Linked DNA regions of Homo sapiens: region 2 is linked to region 1. The links are contacts of gene promoters, found by promoter capture Hi-C in human tissues and cell types (Jung and others, 2019). All regions are on one chromosome and are shown on one strand. Each heading gives the region's core, a stretch centred on a gene start or on the middle of the fragment in contact. The rest is flanking DNA. Distances are from core to core; before and after follow the strand shown.

What was found. Contacts are between HindIII fragments. The study calls those that stand out against the background at their distance.
Region 2: a fragment that was not itself captured here is called in contact with the fragment with the promoter of ARSJ in region 1 in 1 of the 25 tissues and cell types used here (H1 embryonic stem cells).

Annotation. Positions count from the first base shown.
Region 1 is chr4:113,977,501-113,981,433 of GRCh38, forward strand. ARSJ (arylsulfatase family member J) reads right to left here and starts at 2,147. Exons shown (of 2, transcript NM_024590.4): 1 at 937-2,147. The coding sequence starts at 1,334. LOC107986305 (a long non-coding RNA gene) reads left to right here and starts at 2,313. Exons shown (of 2, transcript XR_001741794.2): 1 at 2,313-2,486; 2 at 2,870-3,933. It overlaps LOC124900762 (a long non-coding RNA gene), which reads right to left. Exons shown (of 3, transcript XR_007058237.1): 3 at 3,395-3,464. The HindIII fragment of the contact is 13,267 bases long and covers 1-3,933 here.
Region 2 is chr4:114,033,897-114,038,094 of GRCh38, forward strand. It overlaps LOC105377376 (a long non-coding RNA gene), which reads right to left and starts at 2,655. Exons shown (of 3, transcript XR_939088.2): 1 at 2,580-2,655. The HindIII fragment of the contact is 3,289 bases long and covers 1,044-4,198 here.

The DNA.
Region 1 (3,933 bases), core at 897-3,396:
TGAAATCACAAGACATAGATTGAAATGGCTAAGGATTTTCTTCTACCTCTGTCCAGCTTAACCCCTGCCCTTCCTAGTTTATCTTCGTTCCACAGGCTGAATTTGTACATCCAAATCAATTACAGTAGCCTGTGTTCTGATAGGATAGAGTAAAAATATGAAAATGTTTGAACAATTTAAGTAGAAGATTTAGCTACTTAGCAAAGCAGCAACAATATGAAAAGCACTTTACTTAAGCATCCAAATAGTCTGATTTCTGTTGGTTAGTCAGAAAATTCCAGACCTGTGAAGAGCAACAGAAAACTGCAGATGAAGTTTGACTCCTCTTGAGCACTTACCATTGTATTTCCTTGCATTTTGAGAACTGCTTTGCTAATTAAATATGGCCTTCATTAGGGGGTCTCATAAGAGAAAATGACCCATCAAAGACCGAAGCAGAGTCATACATAAACTGGTCATATTTTACATTACTCTATATCTGTTTCGTTGGTTCATTTTCTCTGATAATTCTAGATTTAAGAATGCACCAAGAGTAAAAAAAATTTTTGATCTTTCTTATCAGTGATGGTGAGTGTGAATTCTAGTATGACATCTGAAACAAAATCTGAGCATGCTCAAAAGTAGAATAGATTTGAAACAGGAGACCATTTCTGGAAATCTCTGGTTTGTGGGTATTTATACGTTCTCATCTCATTTAGAAACTTATAATTGGCTCTGTAAAAAGGAAAACTAGACTACACTAGTGACTAGAAAATTAAGATCATTAACATTGTATCCATTTTAACACGGTACCCCAATACCATACATCATTCATTCATTCTTCATTCATTCAGTTGTTCCCCATACTTTCTGTTACTCCCTTAAATTTGGAGCTGGATCTTCATTAAATGCTTAAGATTTCTCCAAGGAATAAATATAAGAAGTAGGAACACTTACTTTCCAGTAATAAACTGACTCCTGGATGGTGTGCAAATAGGCTGGACATAGTAGTTCTCCAGTTTAACTCCTTCGGCAGCGAGCTTGTCAAGAGTAGGTGTTTTAATCTCAGATCCGTGGTAACCCACATCTCTAAATCCCTGATCATCCGCTAGGATGAAAATGAGATGGGGCTGGGAGGTGGAAGTTGTGCTGGGCTCTAGTTTCTCTCCAGCTTGAGCTAGTAAGGCCCCTTCTTCCTCCTCTTCTAAGGCCTGGCCCCAGGACAGGTAACCATAAGTGAGGAGGCAGAGGATCCAGAATCCTGCCAGCGCCCCCATTGCTAGCATCTTTCCAGGACAGACACAGGCCTGTGGAGAAGGCGGAGGCGGATGCCCCGCACAGCCCCTGGGAGCCATTCACTCAGGTCCCAGGTGAGACTCCACGCGGAGAACCACGCGCCCCGCGCCGCTGCGGGCGCACACATGCACCCAACAGACGGTGAAGACTCTCCACCTGGCAAGAAATCCTCCTCTCCTCTCAGCTGTCACCATGTCCGACAACTTTAATCTTCCAGAAGTGATGGCTTAATGGATGGGACTCCGGAAGAACAAGGAGGGCTCGCTCTTCTCCAGCACATTTCACTTTCTCCTCCTCCTCCCCCCTCCCTAGAGCAGCTTCCACCAAGGAAAAAAAAAAGAAAAAAGTTAATATCTCCACCCAAAAGTTCTCTGGAGAAAAAAACCAAGCAAGGAATTGAGAATCACAGTGGACAGGAACTTTTCGTGGCCAGAGCGCCCTCGACGTTGGGGAGCGAGGCTGACTCTCCTGGGAGTGCTGGTACGGAGGGCGGCGGGATCGGCCGTCTGTCCTGCGGTCCCCACACCTGGAAAGAACTGCGAAGTGGACGCGTCGCGTCTGGCTCTGATCAGACAGATAAACTGCCGTAGTGGACCGGCCTCCTGATCACCTTCTCCACTTTCCCAGGGCTATTTTCCCCAGTCCTTTCCTAGGCGTTTGCCAATCTCCCCGACACTCACCAGGCGGCGAAGTGAGGAAGAAGCCGTTTCCTGATCTCCCTCCACCTCCGCAGAAACTCCGGGCAGCAATTCCTTTTCCCCGCTGCTAGGGAGCCTGAAGGCCAAAGCCGGGTCCCTAGCCCCGCGGCCGGTCCGCGCGGAGCCCGCTTGGTCTTTGCGTAGTTGGCGCACCCGGCGCAGGCGCTGCAAACTGCGTGCGTTTTCTCAGCTAACTTATTTAGCTTTGGCACTCCGAGTTCTTTTGCCTCCTCCCTCTTTTCTCTCCAGTGAATCACAGAACGGTACTTTCTTCCTGAGCTCCCCCGGGAAGAGGGGGTGGGGGAAAAGGACTGTTTAGAGGCTCGATCTTTCCTTTTTCTTTTCCGGGAGGTGGATGGCCAAGGCAGAGGAGGCTTTGCCAGAGAGAGAGCTGCGTGCTGCTCCAGCCCAGCGGGATTCCGGGGGATCCGCCTGGGCTACCGCGTCCCAAGAGTGTCGCCTCCTGCCCATCACCCCGCTAGAGGGAAAGGACGGCGGCGCGAATGGGGAAGGGTAAAGCGGGCACTTCTTTTCGTGGGGCTGTTGGTGAAGAGCCCCGTCTCCCATCCCTAAAGTTGCGCTTGCAAACTTTTTCTAGCTTCTGGAGGGAGTGAGAGAGAAGGAGCAGGAATAAAAACAAAATGCGTATGACACTCTTTCCTCTTTCCAACTTCCTTTGCAGGTTTTCCTTTACTAGTCCCCCCACCCCCATCATTTTCCTATTCCTTTTGTCCCTACCTTTTTTTTTTTTTTTTTCAGTAACGATGACAAATTTTTAAGTTTTATTTCCTCTCCCAATAGCTGGCTTTTACAGCCTGATTCTTCGTTACCCTTTCCCTATGTGAAAATACTGGAATTGCCCGCTCCCTCTTACCTCTCCCCTAACTTACCCACAGGGTGTCTCCAGCCAAAAGCCTGGAGAGGAAGAGTTATGCATTTCTCCTTCAAGAACCCCGAAGCCAGTCTGCATTCCTGCATTAAAGAAGCCAGTGTTTCCCATCCAGTAATTCAGGGAGCTTCATCATTTTTTTTCCTTCTTTCTTTTTTACCATGTGGAGGAAAACCATTGTAAAAACTTATCTTGGTTGTGAAAATACTCTTGATTTTACTAGAGTCATAGAGTTTTAAAGTCCTGCTCAAAGGCAGCAGAGGGATGTATAGTATAGTCTCTATAGAAGAGGCAATGAATGCCAAGAGCCACTGAGATATTTTTTTCTACCACCAAATTTATTCAACAGTTACTTACTGAATACCTACTGTGGGCTGGCACATAACATGTCAGATTCTCTCAATTGACTGAAACATAAATCTAGGTTTCATTTAGCCATTTATTTCTAATTCTCTCCTGTTGCTAAAGTTCCTGCTGAGTTCCCAGGCAAAACTTTGTGAAATGGGAACTTTGAAAGGCACGATGGTGCTCCATGAAGTTAACCTTGCTAGCTGCTGTAGGCCTTCTGGTCTCTGTTCTTCCTTGCAGCCCTTCTGGCTAAGCTGGGGAGAGATAGTCAGTTTTAGAAGCCATGTTCAGAAATGTGAGTTTAGCAATTCTGTAAATTAAGTCACCAAATATGTAATGAGAGTACTGAGTGTCAGGGGATTGAAAAGCATTGAGAGGTAGGGCCCTAGGCTTAATGGGCCTAGCCAGGTGCTTGAATGGGAAAGATGCAAACATTCTGGTCAATCTAGCCTTTTATTTGGGGAGATAGTGACTTCTTGTGACATAGCACAAGAAGTATCCATGTTCTGTGCAAGAAGGAGACACATTTTCAGTTGAGGTTCCAAGCAATAATAATAAAAAACAATCAAAATGTATGGAATACTTACCATGTGCTAACCATAGTATTCTATATACTGATACATACACACATATACAGTCGCATCTATCAGGGATTAGTTTCAGAACCCTGAGGGATACCAAAATTCATGGATGTTCAAGTCCCTTATGTAAAATGGTGCACTA
Region 2 (4,198 bases), core at 1,438-3,937, 57 kb after region 1:
CCACTGCACTCCAGCATGTGCAAAAAAAAAAAAGAGGACCTGTCTCAAAACAAACAAATAGAAAAACCACAATAAGCACAAATCCCCAAGCTAGCATTGTTTTTGCACTTTGACCTTGAATGCTTTACATTTTATCAGTAACTAATTAACCTTATTTGTCATTATAGGACATTTGATAATAACATTTATGTCTAAGTTAGTTCTCCTTATAAAGATTTTAGATGGACATGGATGTGGAACAAAAGTAAGTTCTATTCTCAGGTGAACTTACATTTTTCGCAGCTGTAGATAAGCAGTAATTGAAGTGAAAAACTGTCTCCTCTCTCCTGCCTTTGGGATGTAATGGCCATGCAGGTGTCTTTTTGCCAACTCTGTGCTCTTGACAGTGTTATTAGCTCAAAATCACCAGGGACAAAACATTTTATACAAGGAACAGACATGCTTTTATACTACTAAATGAGCTTTCTGGGCTTTCTAACACTGCCAGTTTTGTATAAAGGTGGATGCCTACCTTGTGGAGGAACATTAATAGCAGGGAATTCAAAGCAACCATTGTTAGAAGCTTGTATTTTAGAGAATGCTTTTATTTTCTTTTACTAGACTTCATTACAAAAGTCTCTTGTTTTATTGCCATTACCTTTCTAGGCTGGTCTATATTTGGGTTCTGGCCAAAGATGAAAGTTGTATGCAAACATCCAATGGGCAATACAAAAATCATTTTCAAGATAGCCTTTTGGGAAATGTTATTTGCTTTCCAATTAGAGTCTGTTATTTCATGACTATTGTCACCGAAACAAAAATAATATTCTTAACTAATCATTCAGTGCATTTGAAGAGCAGTGTTATTTATTATTTTTAAATTTTTCTCATGTCTGAAATAATCTTACTTTTTTTGGTCAACATAAATCAAGTCAATGTTCTGTGGCTTGGGCATAGGCATGGTAGGCATGAATAGGCGTGCTTCACACCTACCCAGAGAAACACAGGAGAAAGGTCTGGTACATGATGTAGGTTTCTAGAAAGGGAAGAGTCACAATGGATGAGTCCCTCCATCTTCGAACTACAGATATGAAGTGAAGTGAAATTACTTGCCCGAGGTCATAAATATACCCAATGACAATATTGGCAGAAGCATCATGTCTACAGATCCCAAAGTATTGTTTCTTCAAACAGTATCTTGGTGTGACACTGGAAAGAATTGCAAGGGAGATGGCACGGGTGGATCACATCAATCTTGACTTGAGTCTCTACTTACCTGATAGTTGGCTCCACTGAGAAATACAAAAAGAGTGGTACTTGTTTTAGTATAAAAATAGTATGAAGTGCAATTACTAAATGGGCTAATTTTTTCTCATTATCAAGGTTTTTTACTATTTAAGAATCACAGGAAGAAGGAAAAATGTGCATTAACTTTTATAAAATCAGTGGTAGTAACTTATCAAAAAGCTACTTCATTAGTACTTCAGTAAGTAGAGTACTTCATTTAGCATTACTCCATTAGATAATATATAAAAAACAAGGCAAGCTTAGTAAACCATCTGGGTTGAAAGTTGTAAGAAAAAGAGACATGGTTGGAAGCTTGAATAAATGAAAATATTTTTACTACAAGCATCTGATTTCTGCATGCATGGTGGCAGGCAAGTAATTTCTTGGCTGATGCCTAAATCATATTTTTGAATTGAAAATGAAATATCTGGCATTTAAAGGAAGTCTTAAAAATGCAACACATAGATAAGTCTACTTAAAATACAGAACTGAGAACATTGGTTGAGTTATGAAAAATCTATGCTTGGAGACTACCATGATCCATGTCTCTGCCTGGAACCCTCTACTCACCCGTAATGTATTTCTCTAGGAGACTTCTTTTTAAGTGATTGTTTAATGAGTGGTAATCATATGATGAATGCTCCAGGTATTATACTAGGTGATTTACACAGATTATTACATTTAAATCTCAAAACAACTCTGTGAGGAAAGGTTAAGTAATCCAGTAAAAAGTCCCCCAGCTAGTAAGTGGCTAGCTGAAGATTTGAGGAGTCACGATTTGAATGCAGGCCTTCTTATCTCAGGTCTGAGTTGATATAATAATAATGCTTTCCATGGTGGGATGGAGAGTTAGGAACTTTACCCACCTTTAGACAAATAGGATGCCGTGTCTTAAAGAAGGGATTTCTATTCTGGAGAGAAGACAATCTGGGAGCTCTTAATTGGACTACAAATTCCTTAAAGGTAGAAATATACTCACTATTATATTCCCAGCATCAAATAGGCATACAATAAATACTTGTTGAATTTATGAGAGTCTGGCAAATTTGCCACCCTTTTAAAAAGAATAGTCTATAACAGAAGTTTAATTCTAAGGAATTTCCAATAGGGGCAAAAAAGTGGAGTGGAGGGGAGTTGTCACATAATTATAAGGAAACATAACTATCCCATATTTGAGTGTGCCTACATGTGAAAGACTGATCAATCATAAGCAGATGGGTTAAATCTTAAAAAGAATATAGGATACGACCCAGAACATTAAAGCATTACTATAATAGCCATAAACATTGGAAGAGATTCTCTAATCAGCCTACCTTAATATGGTGGTTTGGAAGAAATATCTCAGGGAACAAAGAGAAAGACCATCAGAAAAGAGTGTGGTTGGTGACGGAAGCACAGTGCCCTCACCAGAGGTGCTATGAAAATGATTAACGCTGTGTAAAGTACATCATTCAAAAACTAGGTGCCACTGAAGAACAGTTGCTATGGCAACCGAAGTAATATAGAAGGGAGAGGCGAGGCCAAGGAAGAAGGAATGACATAAATTGAAAACCTAGGAAGTGCCAGGTTTCACAATGAGTTTCACAGTTAATATCTCAATTTATCTTTACAGCTCTATTTTACCTTCCTGTGATTGTGCTACCACTAAATATCCACAGGCTTCTTTTCTGTTCTGTAGAATGGGATCCTATTTCATCAGATTCTCTATTTTCTTGCTGAAAACAAGCAGGCACAGGAAAGAGATGTCACTTTGAAACAGAAGAGGTTAATAAAGCGACTACAAAAGGGTAGAGGAACATCATAAAATACTTGTGCAGTCCTATGGGCTTGGCCACAGCCGGGAGCCACTGTCATTCCTAGGCCTAAAGAGGCAAGGAAACGAACAGTTACAAGAAGGTGGAGAGAGGCTCTGTGGGGAAAGATGCCTGAGAAGAACAGGATCTTTCAGTAGAGATAGCCAAAACAGGCGGAAGGTAGCTGAGGGAATAGGAACCTGCACCTCCCTCTCCTCCAGCCTGCCAGACCTCCTCCCTGTGCCGTTCTTTATATAGCAGAACTTCTACCTCCACAGGCTTTTCTGGGTTAAAATGTCCAAGTGTCTGCAGGGTTTTTATTACAGCCTGGACTTGCTGCAAAGCCTTTTCTTGATGTGGGACCCATTCCACACTGACAATTTAAACCTGCTATATTTTGCTCCAAAATTCAAAAATGCCCTCCAAGCAATCTGCCTTTCTTTGTGGTAGGTGAGCAGATATCTCACTTTCAAAGCAATATTCTGATATTTCCCAAATCACTGGATTCTTAAGAATCTATACCAATGTGGCAAACCTCTGAAACTTCACAGGGTTTAGTTGCTATCCTCTTATGTGCATGGGTCTTACTAGTCCTGATCCCCAGACTCATTAGTATAACAGCATCAGCATAATAAACAAGCTAGTGTGATATTCTGTGGTATATAAAGACTATAAAGGACTAAATTATGACACTGGGCAGGAGAGTTGACTTTGTCCTGAAGCAATGTGGTAAAGATATACTTTTGTATCTATGAAACTGCTTCTAATTTTCCTTGACTGATTTTTAATCAGCTAAGTCAACAGCTGTATTCTAGCTGCTGAAGACTGTAGTGATTTTTCCTCATCTGGAGCTGCAGGTTAAAACATAACTCAGTCATTATCCAAGACCTATCAAACTTATGCACCAGCCAAACAAGCTATTTAGATGAACACGTGGTATGAATCAACTTCCCCTATATTTAAAAGATTGTTTGTTGTGGAACTAATTTTTTCAATTCACCCAGGCATGTGGTGTCATTTTTGGGTTGCTATATTTTTCAGGGGGTAAAGGAGAAGGGGTAAGAAGAGGAGAAGCTTTACTAAAACCAAGGAGAATGGCTTTATGGAGAGGGCCACCTGGCAGAAGTTATGACCTTCAG